Regions from separate parts of the Homo sapiens genome. Here all the other regions are linked to region 1. Evidence: promoter capture Hi-C in 16 types of primary human blood cells and fetal thymus (Javierre and others, 2016). All regions are on one chromosome and are shown on one strand. The core of a region is centred on a gene start or on the middle of the fragment in contact, and the rest is flanking DNA. Distances in the headings are between cores, read along the strand shown. Region 1 holds the start of PABIR1 (PP2A Aalpha (PPP2R1A) and B55A (PPP2R2A) interacting phosphatase regulator 1). Region 2 overlaps PIP5K1B (phosphatidylinositol-4-phosphate 5-kinase type 1 beta). Region 3 has its middle 25 kb from the start of PIP5K1B. Region 4 overlaps PIP5K1B (phosphatidylinositol-4-phosphate 5-kinase type 1 beta). Region 5 has its middle 8.0 kb from the start of PIP5K1B. Region 6 overlaps PIP5K1B (phosphatidylinositol-4-phosphate 5-kinase type 1 beta).

The links. Contacts are between HindIII fragments. The CHiCAGO score rates a contact against its expected background, and 5 or more counts as called.
Region 2: a fragment that was not itself captured here is called in contact with the fragment with the promoter of PABIR1 in region 1 in 7 of 17 cell types (naive CD4 T cells, non-activated CD4 T cells, naive B cells and 4 more); the score reaches 9.1 in naive CD4 T cells.
Region 3: a fragment that was not itself captured here is called in contact with the fragment with the promoter of PABIR1 in region 1 in 4 of 17 cell types (naive B cells, total B cells, erythroblasts and 1 more); the score reaches 14.7 in naive B cells.
Region 4: a fragment that was not itself captured here is called in contact with the fragment with the promoter of PABIR1 in region 1 in 2 of 17 cell types (naive B cells and total B cells); the score reaches 7.9 in naive B cells.
Region 5: a contact is called between a fragment that was not itself captured here and the fragment with the promoter of PABIR1 in region 1, in 5 of 17 cell types (total B cells, erythroblasts, naive B cells and 2 more). The highest score is 9.6, in total B cells.
Region 6: a contact is called between a fragment that was not itself captured here and the fragment with the promoter of PABIR1 in region 1, in 5 of 17 cell types (total B cells, erythroblasts, naive B cells and 2 more). The highest score is 10.4, in total B cells.

Annotation. Positions count from the first base shown.
Region 1 is chr9:68,778,460-68,781,465 of GRCh38, forward strand. PABIR1 (PP2A Aalpha (PPP2R1A) and B55A (PPP2R2A) interacting phosphatase regulator 1) reads left to right here and starts at 1,606. Exons shown (of 1, transcript NM_138333.5): 1 at 1,606-3,006. The coding sequence starts at 1,706. The coding sequence ends at 2,569. The region is part of intron 2 of PIP5K1B (phosphatidylinositol-4-phosphate 5-kinase type 1 beta); the gene reads left to right. RefSeq lists silencers at 1,095-1,509, 1,627-1,866 and an enhancer at 1,514-2,342. The HindIII fragment of the contact is 10,001 bases long and covers 1-3,006 here.
Region 2 is chr9:68,889,425-68,892,430 of GRCh38, forward strand. All of the region lies in intron 7 of PIP5K1B (phosphatidylinositol-4-phosphate 5-kinase type 1 beta), which reads left to right. Among named protein-coding and RNA genes, the nearest start is that of PABIR1, 110 kb to the left of the region's middle. The HindIII fragment of the contact is 3,450 bases long and covers 1-3,006 here.
Region 3 is chr9:68,678,506-68,681,511 of GRCh38, forward strand. No RefSeq gene overlaps it. Among named protein-coding and RNA genes, the nearest start is that of PIP5K1B, 25 kb to the right of the region's middle. The HindIII fragment of the contact is 3,399 bases long and covers 1-3,006 here.
Region 4 is chr9:68,869,320-68,872,325 of GRCh38, forward strand. All of the region lies in intron 5 of PIP5K1B (phosphatidylinositol-4-phosphate 5-kinase type 1 beta), which reads left to right. Among named protein-coding and RNA genes, the nearest start is that of PABIR1, 91 kb to the left of the region's middle. RefSeq lists an enhancer at 2,823-3,006. The HindIII fragment of the contact is 443 bases long and covers 1,378-1,820 here.
Region 5 is chr9:68,695,781-68,698,786 of GRCh38, forward strand. No RefSeq gene overlaps it. Among named protein-coding and RNA genes, the nearest start is that of PIP5K1B, 8.0 kb to the right of the region's middle. The HindIII fragment of the contact is 4,000 bases long and covers 1-3,006 here.
Region 6 is chr9:68,714,004-68,717,009 of GRCh38, forward strand. The region is part of intron 1 of PIP5K1B (phosphatidylinositol-4-phosphate 5-kinase type 1 beta); the gene reads left to right. Among named protein-coding and RNA genes, the nearest start is that of PIP5K1B, 10 kb to the left of the region's middle. The HindIII fragment of the contact is 3,615 bases long and covers 1-3,006 here.

The DNA of each region.
Region 1 (3,006 bases), core at 356-2,855:
GCTATGAGTCCCCTTCGAATAATCTATTTCTTTCACAATCTAAATTTAATCCATCTGCAAATCCTATTTGTTCTAACTCAACACATATCCTCAGTCTCTCTGCTTCTCCCCATTGACACTGCTACAACCCTAGTCCAAGAATCTTATCTGTACTGTTGCCATAGGTCCTGAATTCATCCTTCTGCCTCCACTCTGGTCTTCTTTCAGCCTGTTTTCCACAGAGCCTAAGTGATATTTAAAACATAAACCAGATAATATCAGTCCCCTGCTTAAAACCCTCCAGTGGCGTTTCATCATATTCAGAATGAGATCCAACTCTTACCCTCTCCTAACACTCCCGCTCTTATGCTTCAGCGGCACTGCCCTTTTTTCTTTTTCTGCTAACTCATCAAACTCATGGCTGCCTCCGGCCTTAGCACTTGCTATTCTCTCTGCTTGGAATACTCATTCCCCAGATGTCCACGTGACTTACTGCTTCTTGTCATTTAGATCTCAACTCTAATTGTCCCCTGACTTCTATCAGTAGTGCTCCATCACACCATCTTACTTTTCCTAAGGCTTACCACTATCTGAAAATAGCCTGCGTTTCTCTATTTTCCCCTCAGTAAGAATTAAAAGTTCATACTAGGGCCCATTTCCTAGCAGTGTTTGGCACATAGTAAGTATGCTGAAAAAAAAAAACCTTGACTGACTGAATAAATGAACAAATAAACTCACTTTTAATGAGATATCAAGGTTTTATATTAATTACATGAGCCAAGAATTGTGGTTTCATTTTTAAAATGTGAGGACCTACTGGTTTAATCCTTCATACTTCACACATATGCTTGTGCTGGAACTATGACTGTAAATCAATAGCAATACCATCCTCTGTTTTGGCTTCTTCCCCTAACCTAAATAGTTCTCAGATTTACTTTTCTCTCCATCTCCACTGCCACACTGTCACCTTAGTGCAAATGACCATCCTCTCTGGCCTTTTTTCTGTAAGGTTTTAATCTCCCAATATGTATTCTCCAGACTGCAGGCCAGTGAGCTTTTCAGTTGCTGTTACACCCATGCTTGAAAACCCTTTAAGTTTTCATTGTTCTCAAGATAAAGACCAGAATGTGGTCTGGTCCACCACCTCACGTCAGGCCAGCCCTCACTCTCCACTCCAGGCCACACTTTCTCCTCCCCTCCTGGTTCCCGCCTGCCAACTGGCTGGGTAGCCGTTGCTTCCCGCTTCCTGCAAAGTTCTACATCGCACCCATTTCGCCCACTTCTTCAGATTTCAGGAGATTGTTCCTTCCTCGAGGAAGCCCTCCCTGATTAGGCCAAGCGCCACTCCACGTCATACAGCCCCACATCACCATGGGCCTCTCTTTCAGGGCTTTGTTTTATGAGTATGCAATCCAGAATATGACAATCTTATTGACATGCGTCAACGCGAGCTTGCGCTCAATAGCTATTTGCCGAAGGAATATACGGACTAGCGGCCCGACCACTCCTCGCCCCTCCCCTACCACTGCCGCGCACATATTACGCATTAAGCAGGCGCCGCGAGTACGGACATCGCGAGCGCCTGCGCGAAGGGCTACGCATGCGCAGAGGGGCCAGCCCGCTGACAGATTCTCGGTGGCGGCGGCAGCGGCGGCGGCCCTGGACTGCGGGGAATGGGAATCCTAGGTCCCTGACTGAGCACCTCCCCCGCCTCCCTGCCCCCGACATGGCTCAGGAGAAGATGGAGCTAGACCTGGAGCTGCCTCCGGGTACGGGCGGGAGCCCGGCGGAGGGCGGTGGCAGCGGCGGCGGCGGGGGCCTCAGGAGGTCTAACAGCGCCCCCCTGATCCACGGCCTCAGTGACACTTCGCCGGTGTTCCAGGCCGAGGCGCCGAGCGCCAGGCGGAACAGCACAACGTTCCCGAGCCGCCACGGCCTGCTGCTGCCGGCCTCCCCTGTCCGCATGCACAGCAGCCGCTTGCACCAGATCAAACAAGAAGAGGGCATGGACTTGATCAACCGAGAGACGGTCCACGAACGGGAGGTGCAGACCGCAATGCAGATAAGCCACTCCTGGGAGGAAAGTTTCAGCCTGAGTGACAACGACGTGGAGAAATCCGCCTCCCCCAAGCGCATCGATTTCATTCCTGTGTCACCAGCACCGTCACCCACTCGGGGAATTGGGAAGCAGTGTTTTTCGCCATCCTTGCAAAGTTTTGTAAGTAGCAACGGATTGCCTCCAAGCCCTATTCCCAGCCCAACGACCCGATTTACCACCCGGAGAAGCCAGAGCCCCATCAATTGCATTAGACCAAGTGTTCTTGGACCATTGAAAAGAAAATGTGAAATGGAAACTGAATATCAGCCAAAGAGATTTTTCCAGGGCATCACCAACATGCTTTCTTCTGACGTTGCACAGCTGTCAGATCCTGGTGTGTGTGTATCTTCGGATACCCTTGATGGAAACAGCAGCAGTGCCGGATCTTCTTGTAACTCACCAGCGAAAGTCAGCACTACCACCGACTCTCCTGTGTCACCTGCCCAAGCGGCTTCTCCATTTATTCCACTAGATGAACTTTCGTCTAAGTGATTCACTCATCCTGAGACTTTCTTTTTGCAGTGGAGAGAGAGAATAATCTAGTTGGGGCAAACACTGAACTTTGTCAATTAATTTGAGGCTATTTCCTATTTGACCCCTTTTCTTTTTTGAAATTCCCTGAAATGATGTTATTCTAGAGAACTTCTATGTCAGGTTCCTTTGGATACCCTTGAATTCAGTGTAGTAATATTTTCAGACGTTTCCCCAATAAGTGTGTTGAAGCATACATCTTTACGCTGCTAATATGTCTAAATACATATGTTATCCCTTGATTTTTTTAAATAACTGAGAGCTCTATTTATTTATGGGATTATTAAGTTCTGATGAAAATATAAATGTTGACTTAATCAGCATAGTAAACTGATGTTTAAAATTCCATACTTCATGCCCACACTAATTTTTAATGTTATTTTCAGTGGTTGCCGATT
Region 2 (3,006 bases), core at 296-2,795, 110 kb after region 1:
CTCAGTCTTTAAAGGCTGAGAAATACGTGGCCAGGCGTGGTGGCTCACGCCTGTAATCCCAGCACTTTGGGAGGCCGAGGCAGGCAGATCACAAGGTCAGGAGATTAAGACCATCCTGGCTAACACAGTGAAACCCCGTCTCTACTAAAAATACAAAAAAATTAGCCAGGCGTGGTGGTGGGCGCCTGTAGTCCTAGCTACTCAGGAGGCTGAGGCAGGAGAATGGCATGAACCCGGGAGGCGGAGCTTGCAGTGAATCGAGATCCCGCCACTGCACTCCAGCCTGGGCGACAGAGCGAGACTCCTTCTCAAAAAAAAAAAAAAAAAAAAGCTGGGAAATACTTATCTTACATAGTTGTTGTGATAAAGTAAGGATACAGGATATAAAATAAAGGAAAGATAAAGGAAGCAATGTGTTTCAAAGCTCTTTGCAGCCAGTACGCAGTAATAGTATAAATGGTTAACTTTCATGGATTGCTTACTACATGTTAAGCAAGGCCTTAAGTGCTTTGCATTCATTAACTCATTTAATCCTCACAGCAACCTTGGATACTACAATTATCACCTTTTTATAGAAGAGGTAATTGAGGCAAAGATAAATTAAGTAACTTGCCATGGGTGATTCAGCTGGAGAGCTGCAGAGCTGGGGCTACGCAAGCAAAAGGGCTCCAGAGAATGCATTTTTAACCCCTACACTAATACACCGGAACATATTCTATATTAGCTGTTCTCAGCTACTAGACTTCAGAATTTAGAATTTCATGGGTAAATGTGATAGTGTGAAAAATCACCTTTCATGTAATATTTTAGAGACAAAGGAACAGTAACTTAGCCTAGACGGATTTACTACACGTTTACTCCAAAATTTTCAAAACTATCCCCACTGTTCCTAAATAGTCCAGGCATTTTCATACCTCCAGTTTCATTGTACTTTGATAACAGTTCTTAATTTTCTATGATTGGAAGGGCTACATGAAGCTGTCTGGATTTCAGAAGCCCAAGTTCTGCCAATCACTTGCTATGAGTGGTGATAAATATCATCTTTGTTTTTAAAAATGCATTCATCAGATGCCATGTTATCTTTTTATGTAAAAATATTATTTTAATTCCAAAATCTGCTAGACACAGCATTAAATACTTAAATTAATCTCATATAGAAGTATAAAAATAAAAAATCTCAATAAAAATCTTAGTGGCATGCAGGCAGATTTTAAAATATTTCAATACTGAGCAATTATTTTTTTTTGGAGGAACAGAAAATATAGAAAAGCCAAAAAAAAAAAAACTAACTATAGTTTCTTTCCCAGAGATACATATTACTAAAATATGGTGTATATGCTTTCAGTTATTCTTTGTTCATGCACACATTTTAAAATTATCTAAAATTAGGATCAAATTGATATAATATTATTTGATAACCTGCTTAATTAGTAAATCTTAAAATTCCATAGTTCTGAGCTCAGATATACTTGTCCTCTTGTAAAACTGCATTGGCCATATTTGACTACTTATATTTAATTAAAATTAGATAAAAAGTTAAGGGCCAGGAATGGTGGCTCACACCTGTAATCCCAGCACTTTGGGAGGCCAAGGTGGGTGGATCACTTGAGCCCAGGTGTTCAAGTCCAGCCTGGGCAACATGGTGAAACCCCATCTCTACAAAAAAATAAAAAATTATCCAGGCATGGTGGCACGCACCTGTGGTCCCAGCTACTTGGGAGGCTGAGAAGTGGGAGGATCACTTGAGCCTGGAAGGTTGAGGCTGCAGTGAACTATGATCAAGCCACTGTACTCCAGCCTGGGAGACAGAGCAAAACCCTGTATCAAAGAAAAATTAAATTTAGCTGAACAAGTGATTTTATCCCAATTATGTAAGCTAGTATAACAATATAATCCACCCCATTAACAAGAAAAAATGTGAACGTCACGTGGTTACCCAAATAGATGTTGAGGAGAAGCTAAGGCCCTCAAAATTCAACATCTTCACTTAATTAAAATTCTAAAAATTGGCAGGGGAGTTTTTTTTTTTTTAAAAAATGATAAATAAATCAATGATTATACAAGTTGTACATTTATCAGTCTTCCAAAAGTTCACATGATAGCTCATGGAAAAATACAAGAATCCTTTCTCTAGAAACAATAGGAATAGACCAGAGTGCCCCTCCCATCAATAGTCCTTTCTGATAAATTTGCTAGAAATTCTGGCACTGAGTCTTGAGTACAAAAAGAAATAGAAAAAAGTACAAGCACTGTTCTCTTTAAATGACAGAATTCAAAATGAGCAAACCTTCATTTTGCTCATGAAAGTAAATCAGGAATTTTTAGAAGTGATATGACTCCAGCAGATTTGCAGGATAAAAGGTAAATCTACAAAATCCATTATATTCCATTATATAGATGATATAGAGTGGGAGAATATAAGGGAAAAAAGAGATCCTGTTCATGATGACAACAACTTATAATGAACCCTATTAGAAAAATAAGTAAATAAAGTCATGTGAGTACTGTAATTCTGATTGGGAAAGCAAGATATAGTAAGTGGAAAACATAAACAATCAGTTCAGAAAGAATGTAATAAGAAAAATTCTAAAATACTTGAATCTATAAAAACAAATGTTACAAGACCAATATGAAGGAAACTACAAAACGTTATTGAAGGACATAAAGAAGATCTGAAATAATGAAGAAATCTGCATTGTTCCTGAACTCAGTATTGTAAAGATTTCAACTGCTCCCAAATCAACTTATAAATCCAGTCTAATTCCAAGCAAAAATTCTAATAGGATTTTTCACATAGCTTGACAAAGCCAATTTCTTTGAAAGTGAGAGCAAGTCTCATTTGAAGAATGTTTTTTAAAATGAACAATCACACAGAAAGATTGTAAGAATGGAGAAAACATTTTTGAAAAAGAAGAAAAATAGTAGGCCTGCTATAGCATATACAAAAAATATATAAGGCTGTAACTAATGTTAAGGATGTAGGATGAGTACAGTTTTAGACAGATA
Region 3 (3,006 bases), core at 262-2,761, 100 kb before region 1:
GTCTTAAATTTCCTCTTCCTGATGTTTTCACTGTAGTTCTTAACCATGCAATGCTGTTTGCTGGTGGGCTGTCCCCAGCAAGGGCTGCAAAATGCTGCCTCTAATGGTGTAACTGCGTTATAGTCATACAACCTGCTGCTGTGATTTCTCCTTGGGTGCAGCCTACTTCCCAGCCCCTGATTGGTGGACAGACCCCCTTATTTATGGGCAATTTTTCTGTACGGACAAGATAGCACAAGAAGCCCGTCTGGCAGCTGCTCATGGAAACTCTTGCTGTGTCTTCATTTTCATATCAGTAAGCACGCTGTAGGAGACGAAGAGCAGACTGAGGACTATGGCATTATCCTATGCACAGTCAATCAAGACCAGGCTAATTAGATTTTTCAGGTGCTTGGACTCTGTGGGACCACATATTACACAAATACATAGATAAACATTCCCATCCACGAGGACCAAAGAATTGTTGAAGATGGCTGCAAAATAAGTCTCTAGCAAAGGCTTCATTCAATTATCTGGCTTATGCATTCTTTCCCTCTCTTTTAGGAAACATAATGAAACCTCAATACAATTGAAGTGCTTGGACTTGTGTATTATTAATGAGTTTCACCCGGTATAGCAGTGTTCCCCCCAAAATGAAAATCTGAAAACATACATACCTGAGGTTAGATAAAATCAAATATATAAATACTAGTACATTTTGGAAAATATTTAAGAATAGTTTGCTGCGAGGGATAATGATTGCTATGCATATCTATGTTCATGCCATCCCTCAACTACATTTAATCTCTCTAACTTTGTTTTTATTTTTATTTATTTACTTATTTTGAGATGGAGTCTCACTCTTTCACCCAGGCTAGAGTGCAATGGCATGATCTCAGCTCGCTACAACAGCCACCTCCTGAGTTCAAGCAATTCTTCTGCCTCAGCCTCCTAAGCAGCTGGGATTACAGGTGCCCGCCCCCACACCTGGCTAGTTTTTGTATTTTTAGTAGAGACGGGGGTTTCACCATGTTGGCCAGGCTGGTCTCGAACTTCTGACCTCAGGTGATCCACCCACCTCAGCCTCCCAAAGTGCTGGGATTACTGGTGTGAGCCACTGCACCCAGCCATGACTTTATATTAGAAACAAAATTATGTTCTTCATTCATTAAAGCTAGAGCCTACTCTGGCTACTGAGAAGCCATTGGTCTGATGATGAGCATATGGCTCACACATAGGCAATCCTGCTTCCAATGGCCTTAGCATACCCCTGAAGGCTACACCGATATCTGTGTATCTAGGAGCATTATGGTTTCATGATTCTTTCACTTTGAAGATGGACACCTGGGTACTTCATCAGCATGTCATCTTATGCCTTGCATGGATTTTCCTCAGGGACCTGTCCTTAGTCCTTTCCTCCTCCTCTTTCACTTAACATTCATGTGTTGATTTCCTGTACTTTATCTCCAACTCAGAGTTCTTTTTTTTCCTCTCTGAATTTTGAATAGATTCTATGGGATAACTCCACTAGCATACCAGTGCTACAATCTCAATAGTTTCCAAATACGAAGTCATTCTCTTACCCCTCTGGCCTTTGTCTCTCATATTCCATATCTATATGAATGGCTCTGTCATTCTACCAGTCTGGGAACCAAACTTAACCCTTCCCGCTTTTTTATCTTTATCTTTATGTTCAATTAGTCACTTTGCTGTTTAATTCTTCCCCACTAACTTTTCTCACATCCCCTAATGTTCATTCTCCACTGTAGAGATCTCTAGCTAGAATTCCATTATCTCTCACCTAGATAGATGACTGAACAGCTCTCTTGTCTCCCTGCTTCTCACTCCCAGAGTGATTTTTTAAAAGACATGTTACTGCCTTGTCTAAAATCCTTCACAACTGGGGAGTTTATCCTCATCTTTTAGGATAAAGCCAAAGGTTCTTAGCATGGCAAAAAATGCCCTTCATCTTCTGTCTCTTGTTTACCTATTTGGCAAAATCAAGCTACGTCATAGCTCAGAAAAGTCAATAATCTTTTTGTTTTCTGGAAATGTAGGTGCCTGTCTCTTCTTCACTTGGAAGGCACTATCACTATCACCACCTCCAAGACATTTGCTGTCGCCCTACCACACTGGGTTTGGTGTTTTTCTCTGTGCTCTCATAATCCTTGAGTCTTCCTGTTCCATGGTTTCTGTCACAATGCGTGTTCTTATTTGAGTCCCCTGCACTTACACTAAACCCCTGAACACACTTGCTCATATCAGAAATAGACACTAGCCTTCTTTGTGTTGACCACATCTTAGCATGATACTTATTCATAAAAGGCACTCAAGAAATGCCTGTTAAATGAGTGGATTTTGCAGAAGAGAATCATGGACAGATGCTCCTTGACTTATGACAGGTTTATGTCTCAATAAACATATCATAAATTGAAAATACTGTAAGTGAAAACACACATGACTTATGACATTTTCAATTTGCAATGTATTTCTCTGGACATAACCTCATAAGTTGAGCAGTGTATTATTTAATGGGTATTGCTTTCACACCAGCCTAAAATCAAAAAATTGTAAGTAGATCCATCATAAGTCAGGGGTTGTCTATATTAGATAGATGATTGGAATTGATGGCTAGAAATTTCAAGAAATTATGCATATAAAATTCACTGGGAAGATTCTGTTCTATTGTTTAAGGTATCATTCTCATACTCTCAAGTCCTAGTTTCTTATCCCTCAAACAATAAATGCTCAGTGAATAGTTCAATGAACTATGTAGCACACTGAGAAGGCATAGAATGTAAAATTGTCTACAGCACTCTCTCCACCCTCAAGAATCTCACAGCCCAGGTTAGAGACATGAATAATAACAAATAATTATATTACAATGAGACAATAGCTAAGTAATACAGTTAATATGGGAAACCAAAGAAGGAATCCTTATTTTTTAGGGAAAGAAATGAGGAAGAGGTCATATTTGAATCTTGAAGACTAGGTTGGAGTTTACTGGGATAAGGGATTTGGGTCCCA
Region 4 (3,006 bases), core at 349-2,848, 91 kb after region 1:
GATCTAGGTTGTTTGCTCCTTATGAGAATGTAATGCCCGATGATCTGAGATGGAACAGTTTCATCCCAAAACCATCCCCCCATTTCCACTGTCTGTGGAAAAATTGTCTTCCACAAAACTGGTCCCTGGTGCCAAAAAGGTTGGGGACCACTGTCTTATATCATGTGGGTCAGCATACAACAGCCCATGGGACAGGCCCCGCTAACTGCCCGTTTTTGTAAATAAGGTTTAATTGGAATAAAGCCACATCCATTCATTTACAAATTGTCTGCGGCTGCTATCTACAATGGCTGCAGAGTTGAGTAATTGCTACAGAGACTGTATGGCCCACAGAGCTCGAAATATTATCTGGCCCTTTATAGAAAAAGATTGCCAAGGCTGGCTGCAGTGGCTCACGCCCGTAATCCCAGCACTTTGGGAGGCCGAGGTGGGAAGATCACATGAGCTCAAGAGTTTGAAAGCAGCCTGGGCAATATAGTGAGACCTCATCTCTTTATATTTAATAAAAATAAAAATAAATAAAAAAGAAAAAGATTACCAACTCCTGATCTATACAAACATTCTGCACCAGTTTTTATGTACATGTGGGTAGAAGACAAAGCTGCCAGCTTAGTCTTCTTGGGAGAAAATGAGAAGTGACTGCTGCTGGGCAAGCCATAATATGATGCTCCTTCAAATCAAAACTCTTTATGTCTTTGTTCAGCGTGTATTTGGTGAGGATGGGGAGAAACTGATTTCCTATTACTAAAAGCCATATACCTCTTCCTTTAGCTCAAAGGATTTATTGCATGCACTGGATATTATACAATATTCTACTTTATTTGAAGTTATCTTCAAGCACGGTTTTCCAGTATGGTAATAACTTCTTGGATGGTTTAATGTTTATATAACCGATGATGTCACATGTTCCCAGTAAATGACATCCCGGAATGCACTGTTTGGTTGGGGAATTTAAGCTGTCTTCAGATGCTGACTTTTACAGATTGGCTGTCAGCTGGTTGGTCTCTGAAGATGGTGCAGCCTCGTCTTATACAATGCAGTTCATGTGTACCCATCACAGAACTGCTCAGCAACAGGAGGTTGGCACCAGCAAGGAATGTGTCTTTTGTTTTGCTTTGTTTTGTTTTTCCATTCATGAGCACTCTCTAATTTGGCAAAAAAGAGGACCAATTTCTGTCTCTCTCTCTCTAGTTACGTAAAGAATTGTATGTGGAAACCAAGGGATATCCACCTTGGCTGAATTGGCAGAGGCAATTAATAATACCTTAAGGCCGCTTTTACAGACTGCTGTGTACGAAGGTCCAACTTGAAGACTGGGTACCATCAGTAGTTTGTTACTGGATTGTAGTGGCATTCACCCAACTGTAGTGCCACTTAAGCTTTCCTAATGTCTGCACATCAAGACAAAGCACCCTTCATTTATCCTGTCATACAGAGGGTAAGGTCATGTTTGTTGAATACAAGTGAGGGCATTTAGCATCCTTTAGCGACACTGACCACTATCACCCAGGAGTTGCGTAAGTACTAGTTTTGTCAAAAGTCCTCAGAGCCACTATTGATGGTTTGGTTACAATTTGAAATAAACAAAGCTCACTAAATGGAAAATGCTGCTCTAGAGGCAAGAAAGCTCTGAGTCTCAGCTCCAAAACTGGTCCCCTTGTGTTGTCTTTGAGATGCTAAATTAGTTTTACCCCATTGCTTACCACCACATCTCTCAGTCCAGTGCCACCAAAACTAGCACTTGGTCATCAGGCTCTAAAACCCCATAAACAAAGCTGTGTTGTTATTAGTACATAGAGAGGAGAACACCAACTGACCAAAGCTTCTGTAAGTGAAATTCTACCCACCAGCCCCTGTGGTGTGAAGGCCTCATGTGGAAGTAATTGGGATATTTGGGCAGGGAGAAACCCCTGAAACTTGTAACAGAATCCTGAAAAGGAGGAATAACAGAGGAACGTCAAGTCTAAGTTAAGCCATTCCTATCTGCTTATGACTTTTCTGCTGTTCTGATGTGAGTCTAATCTCCCAATCTTGTTTGTTCCTGATCAGTTTGGGCCATTGTTTTCCCTCCCTGGACTATGATTTATCTGCTAAATGGGGAATTCCAGATGGCGGCTAATGCTTCCTCAAGCTTCAACATTGTGTAATTCTGAACATACGTTGCCATTAAGATATATGTATTTTTAGACTAAGACAAGCAGTAGCTTTGGCCTTAAAAATGAACTTGCCTCAGAAGAGGTGAATATCAGAATGCCAGAGCTGGTCTGTGATTGAACTTTAACTGCTTCTTAGTGAATAAGTGGGGAAGAGGACAGAGAAACTTCTGTTCTTTATTTGAAATTTCTTTCTCCTTTTTTGGAGCTAAAAATGCCCTGATGTGATAGGGATTGTAACGTGTGCTTGCTTAATTGTTTAGGTTCTTACTTGGCAAAATAAATTTGGAAATCCAAGGTTGGATTCCAAACTTTTGTTGTCGAAATTTTACTGGCCCATGGGATCCAAGCATCTAGAACCACTGCTCAAAACCCCATAGCTGAGATTTCCAAAGCTTCAACTTACGCCAAGACAAGAAAGTCAGTTGTCGGGTGTTTTTTTTTTTTTTCCACACCCTACATAAGTGCATTGAAGAAATATAAGGTAAATCTTAAACTGTGAGGAGTTCTACTCTTTTTCTGACTTCATTTTTGCTAAGTCTGGATGCTGAGCACAGTTACTCAACAGGTAACTCCAGTCTCAAGCAAGGAAAGCCTGTGGACTTCAGGAGGCAAACGTTGATTGCGGTCATTGTGTTTGAATGTTGGCAGTTCTGCCATGGTGGAAGTTGCTAAGCACTTGGTACCTGTGCTGTGGAGATTCTGTGCTGAACGCCTGTGGGCTGGCACCCACATCTACACACAGTAAATGTGCCAGCGTGGGGCCTCAGAGAACCAAGGTTGTTGCCTGCTGGCTGACCTTCACTGGACTTGCTGTTTTGTTCTCTGCACTCGTGCTCCCCTGACAAATATC
Region 5 (3,006 bases), core at 256-2,755, 83 kb before region 1:
TCATTAACTTTAGAACATTTTTATCACCTTCCCTACCCCCAATCCTGTACCCGTTAGCAGTCACTCCTCATTTTCCTATTATGCCCCCTCTCCCCAGCCAGAGGCAACCTCTTTCTGTCTCTGCAGATTTGTCTATACTGGATATTTTCTATAAATGTAATTAAACAACATGTAGCCTTTTGTGTCTGGTTTATTTCAGTTAGCATAACATTTTCAAGGTTCATCCACATTGTAGCATGTACTGATACTTCATTCCTTTTTATTGCTGGATAATATCTCATTGTATGAATATACAACATTTTCTTTATCCACTTATCAGTTAATGGATATTTAAGTTGTTTCCACTTTTTGGCTATTGTGAACAATGCTGCTATGAACATTTGTGTACAAGTTTTTGTGTAGATGTATGTTTTCATTTCTCTTGGATAGATATGTAGGAGTGGAATTGCTGGGTTGTATCTTAACTCTACATTTAAACTGTTGAGGAACTGCCAGAATTTTTTCAAAAGTGGTTGCTTCTTTTTCAATTCTCACCAGCAATGGAGGAGAGTTCCAATTTTTCTGCCTCTTCACCAACACTTATTATTATCTCTCTTTCTGATTCTAGCCATCCTAGTAGATATAAAGTGTTGTATAGTAGATGTCTTTGTAGTTTTAATTTGCATTTCCCTAATGACTAATAAAGTTGAGTATATTTTCAAATGCTTATTGGTCATTTGTATATCTTCTTTGAGAAATGTCTATTTAGATCCTTTGCCCTGTGAACATTATTTTAATCTAGAAAAACTGTAAGATATTTGACAGCATGGTAAGCAAATAACAAATGTTGGACCTGGCAGTCTCTGGGTGAAGAAAATGAAGAGTGATTTCTTTTTTGTTTTTCTAAATTTTCCTAAGTTTTAAAAACAAACATAATTTTTTGTCATCTTCAAATATTTACATTTTTCCTCAATTTCTTTATCTTTTTCTGATTTGAAAAATTAGCACAAGAAAGTTTTGTTAAAGAAGATACAATATTAACCTAGAGGCAACAATAGCTAACATTTCGGAAGATTTCTTTTCAGGACTTTTCTCAACTTTGCGTACTTTTTTGAGGTTGTAGTATATGTACATGTTCAATTTATGCCTTTTATTCTTATCAGGATATCACAGACAAACTCTTGCATATTAAATAAACCTCTTATTTAATTTTTTCATCTGAAAGTCTGTAGAGGAAATGCCACCATATCGCTTGGCATGCAGAATGGTCACAAAGAAGGGCTTCTTTCATACATTCATTACTCCAAAATTAAGAAAAAACTACACAAACATGCAACACCTACTGTTCCCAACCTATGGGCAACACAAACCTAGGACACAGCAGACTTTTAAGAGGTCATCGCCTAGTCCTTTGCTGTAGTCTGATGTTCTCTGCCTGCTTCACACTGGAAAAGACAGACAGTTTTAAGTAGTATGAAGATGCTGGGCAACTCTCCAATACTTTCTAACTTGTATCTTCACAGAATAGCTTTGCCTTTTGGGTTAAATTATTTGTAATCTCCAAAGCACTGCCAACTCCCATATTTTTCCTTAAAATATGTGCTATAAAAAGCTGTATTCCTCTTGCTTTCCCCATCCTGTTTCTCTTTCCCTCATTACAATTATTATTCCTGAAATCACCCATGCCATCAGGACAAGCTGACTGCAGGTAGAGGGATGAGTTATGTTTCTCTTCACTTTTTTTCCTATCCCAAAGGCTCCAAAGTTTCTGGTTGCAACAACTTTAAAAGCTGATTGCACAGATTCCATTTTCTCCTATGGTAATGAAATTAAATAGTCTCTCATCCTGGCAAGAGCTCCAGAAGAATACTTCTTTTACACTTGCTTTAAATGTTCAATTTTCTGTACCAATATAGGCTGCTGACTCTTTAAGCTCCCATGTATGTCCACAAACACTTCAAGACAGCAGTACCATCCAAAACCACACACATACAACAGGCTGCTTCCAATGTGAAAATCCGGGGGAAATACCAGGATATAGCACAGAAGAAGAATCCTGACTACTAAAGACTCTCCCTCATAAGCCTCCAGTCATAGCTGTGCAAGATTAAATGTAAGATGAATGGCTCGTGTTTAATTCAGTGCATGGGGCTGAGAATATAGTGCTCCCCAGTGTCCAGGCTCTTCTCTTCTTCCCAGGCACAGCGCTTACATGGAGTTTTCCAGACCCCTTGCAAGTAGGTGGGGCTGTGGGATCAATTTCTGGCCAGTGGAATGTGAGTGGACGTGATGATTGCCACTCCTCCACCTGGCATTCTAAATCTTTCATTCTGTCTTGCAGTTCAGGAAGGATTTCAGAGGCCACTTGTTGAAGATAATGGCGCCATGAGACAGGAGGAGCCAGGGTCTCTGGCTGATTGCACAAAACCAGCCCCACCACCAAATCACACTGAATGTTGACATGAACAAGAAATGAATCTTTATTATACTAATCCACTGAGGCTTGCGGGTTGTATGTGAAATCCGTTTGCATACCCTGATTAACACAGCTCCTTTTGCTTTTCTCCCATCCCAGCCAAATATTTTAGGTTGCTGTGACAGCTTGCTGACAACATCTTATAAGGGGTGTCAGAACAGGAAGCTCCATTTTGCTAGCAAAACATTCAAATTCAAATATTGTCAGGAGGAGACAGTCTTGCTAGTAAGGTTCCACCTAAATGGTTCCAAGTCAGGAGAGTCACTAAATGTTTTGAGAAATAAAAGTGAAAATCAATGTGTCTTCCCAGTGTATTCACATGGCACAGTGTCACAGAGGGCTTGAGCGTCTGAGCGTGGACTTCACTGGTTGACTAACGTTAACATGCATGTCTGTTCAACAAGTGTTTGTGGTGTCATCAGTGTCACACATGCTACCTTCCTTCACAAAACAAAGCTGAGAAAGTCTGAGTCTTTGCCCTGGAAGTTTCCCTCCACACAGGGTAGGATCTGCCTCGTCCACTGTAAGCAACTGAGCCCTCCCTGAAATGG
Region 6 (3,006 bases), core at 281-2,780, 65 kb before region 1:
GCTTTTCTGACTATGAAGCCCATACTCTTTTTCTCTGTTTCATGGTGTAGCACCTCAAAGTACAGTTTTGAAATAAGAGTTTTAAAAAGGAGAACATAAGCGAATCTAAAATTTATATCTCCAAACTAAGTCTTTCTCTGAACTCTAGTTTGCATAATTGACATTGCGCTTGGATATCCCAAAGGCACCTCAAATTCTACATGTTCAAAACCAGAATCATGATCTGTTTTCTCCACATCTGATACTCCTGCAAGGTTCCCAGCTCTGTGGTGGGCACCGCTAGTCACCAAGTAGCACGATCAGAAACTTGGGAGCCATCCTTGGCTCCACCCTCTGCACACACCACATCTAATCCATCACCAATGTCTATTGATTTTGCTTCCTGAATATCTTTCCCATTCCATCTGCTTCTCATCATTTGTGCGGATTCTATCCTAGCCCAACTTCTTGTCTCTCTGCAGGACTGAGCCAGAACCTCTCTGGTATCCTGAGTCCACTCTGGGTCTCCTAGAATCCATTACCCATATTGTAACCAGGGCACTTGTGATGGTTGGAGGGCACCTGAGGCTCTGCTGGCCAGATCTCTGCTTCCTGTACCCTGCCAAACCCTCACGGAAGCACACAAATTCTGACCCCAGGGCTCTCCACCTCAGTGGCCTTTTGAGCTCTTGGACAGCCTCTGAGGACTTGTTTTTCCAAGTAGCTTTCTACCCTGATGTTTTTGCTCTCCTGGAGTCCAGTCAGAGGCAGGTTCATAACTACAGTCAACTACTTTTAAAGGAACAGGATGGAAACTCCAGTGTAGCTCTAGGGACTTGCCCAACCCTACCGCAAATACCAAGTTCTTAAGAGTTCTCCGGCAGTTCCCAAGGTGCACTCCACTCACTCCAACAAAGAACCAAAGACTGCTCTACTTCCACAGTTGCTTATACTCTGCCCCTGAGTTCCCCCAGGACCCTGCAATATCACATTTGTGGCCACCATAGCAGAGAAATTCACCACCTGTGGTCTAGGAATAAAATCTAAGCCTCTCCCAAAAGGCACCTGTCTCTGACTGTTGACTGTGGCTTATCCTGGCAGCTTTGAGGAAAAGGCCTGGGTTGCTTTGCATAACTGGCAGGATAGATAAAGAAACATGACTCAAAATCATTCTCTCTGTATTTCCTCATAACAGGAACCAGTTGACATGGGTGCAGGAAAAACTTCCTGACCAAGGAGTGGGGCCTGGGGCTGGGGGTGCTGGACAGAGAGAAGCACAGGGATCTGCCCCAGACTCTTCAATGGCCTCCCTTTGTGCCTGGAGTGAAGATGTGGGTCATTGACATGGTTCCAGAGCCCTGCACGGTCCTGGTCCTGCTGCCACTCCAGTCTCAGATCCACCACTCTGCCCCTTGCTGTTTCTGAGCCACACTTGCAACTGCCAGCTTCACACCCTCTGTGCAGCACTCTCGTTGCCCCCTTTGGAATGTTCTCAGCATCGGTCGACCACGCTTCAGGTCAATTCTAAGGTTACTTTTGAAAGGAGGCCTTGGCCACCCATCCCCAGTCTAGGACAGGACCAGTGGTTCCCTCTCCAGGAGGGCTTCAACAGTATGATTATTTGACTAGTTTCCTCGCCCCCACCAGCTGCTAATCATCAGGGCCCATTGCATCCCCATAGTGTCGGCACATGTAGAATTGTCTTGAGTGAATAAGTAAATGAATACCAATACTTCTACCTTAAAAAAATCCTTTTCGTAAATTCCCACTAAAGAAAGGAAATGCACAGAGATCATGAATGAACCACTTCATATTGCCGATCCTGTCCATGAACTTGATCTTCAACTTTCATTACCACTGCCTAATTTCACCTGTCATGAGCCGCATTTCTATAATGGTAGCTGCAGGTATTATCCCCAAGGAAGGTTGCCCCAAAGGCATGATATAAAATATTTCTGGAAGAATACCTGAGATACTAGTGTCTTTGTTTGCCTCTGGGGAGGTGAATTGGCTAGCTGAGGGGCATGGATGGGAGGGGAATTTTCATCCCATATTTATTTGTACCTCTGAATTTGGACCCATATGTGTGGATTACTTATTTTAAAAATTAGAATTGTAAAAGTAAAAGGAAGGAAAGCAGAGCAAGAGATGTGAAGGAATGGGAATGATTATTTAGAGGAAAGAATATGGACATGCAGTTGAAAGGGGGTTGTCCTGAAAAGAATTCCTGTCTTCAAGGATACAGCCAGTTACATCTGACTTGCTCTGCACATCTATGGAGAACTATATGGCTTCAACTTAAAAGGGATGCCATAACATATAACTTGACTTAAATAGGTTTGTCTGATCTCTCCCATCACAGAATATAACATTTATTCTAAATATAAAAGCTAATAGAACCTAATTATTTAAGAGGGAAGCAGTTGTTAAGGAAGAAGTTAGTTGGAGGCTAAAGCATTCTCCTTGAAGACATAGAAGTGCCCAAGAAACATGAAAAAATGCTTATCATCACTAATCACCAGAGAAGTGCAAATCAAAACCACAATGAGATACCATCTCATACCAGTCAGAATGGCTATGATTAGAAAGTCAAAAAATAACATAGGCTGGCAAGGTTCAGAGAAAAGGGAGCGCTTATGCACGATTGCTTGGTTTGCAAATTTGTTCAGCCACTGTGGAAAACAGTGAGAAATCTTGGAGATTTCTCAAAGAACTGAAAATAGAATTATCATTCAACCCAGCAATCCCATTACTGGATATATACCCAAAGGAAAATAAATTGTTTTATCAGAAAGACACCTGCACTCACACGTTCATTGCAGCGCTATTCATAATAGCAAAGACAAGGAATCAACCTAGGTGACCATCAATGATGGATTGGATGAAGAAAATGTGGTATATATACACCATGGAATATTATGCAGCCATAAGAAAGAACAAAATCATGTTCTGTAGCATAATGGATGCACCTGGAGGCCGTTATCCTAAGCAAATTAACACAGAAGCAACCAAATACCGCGTGTTCTC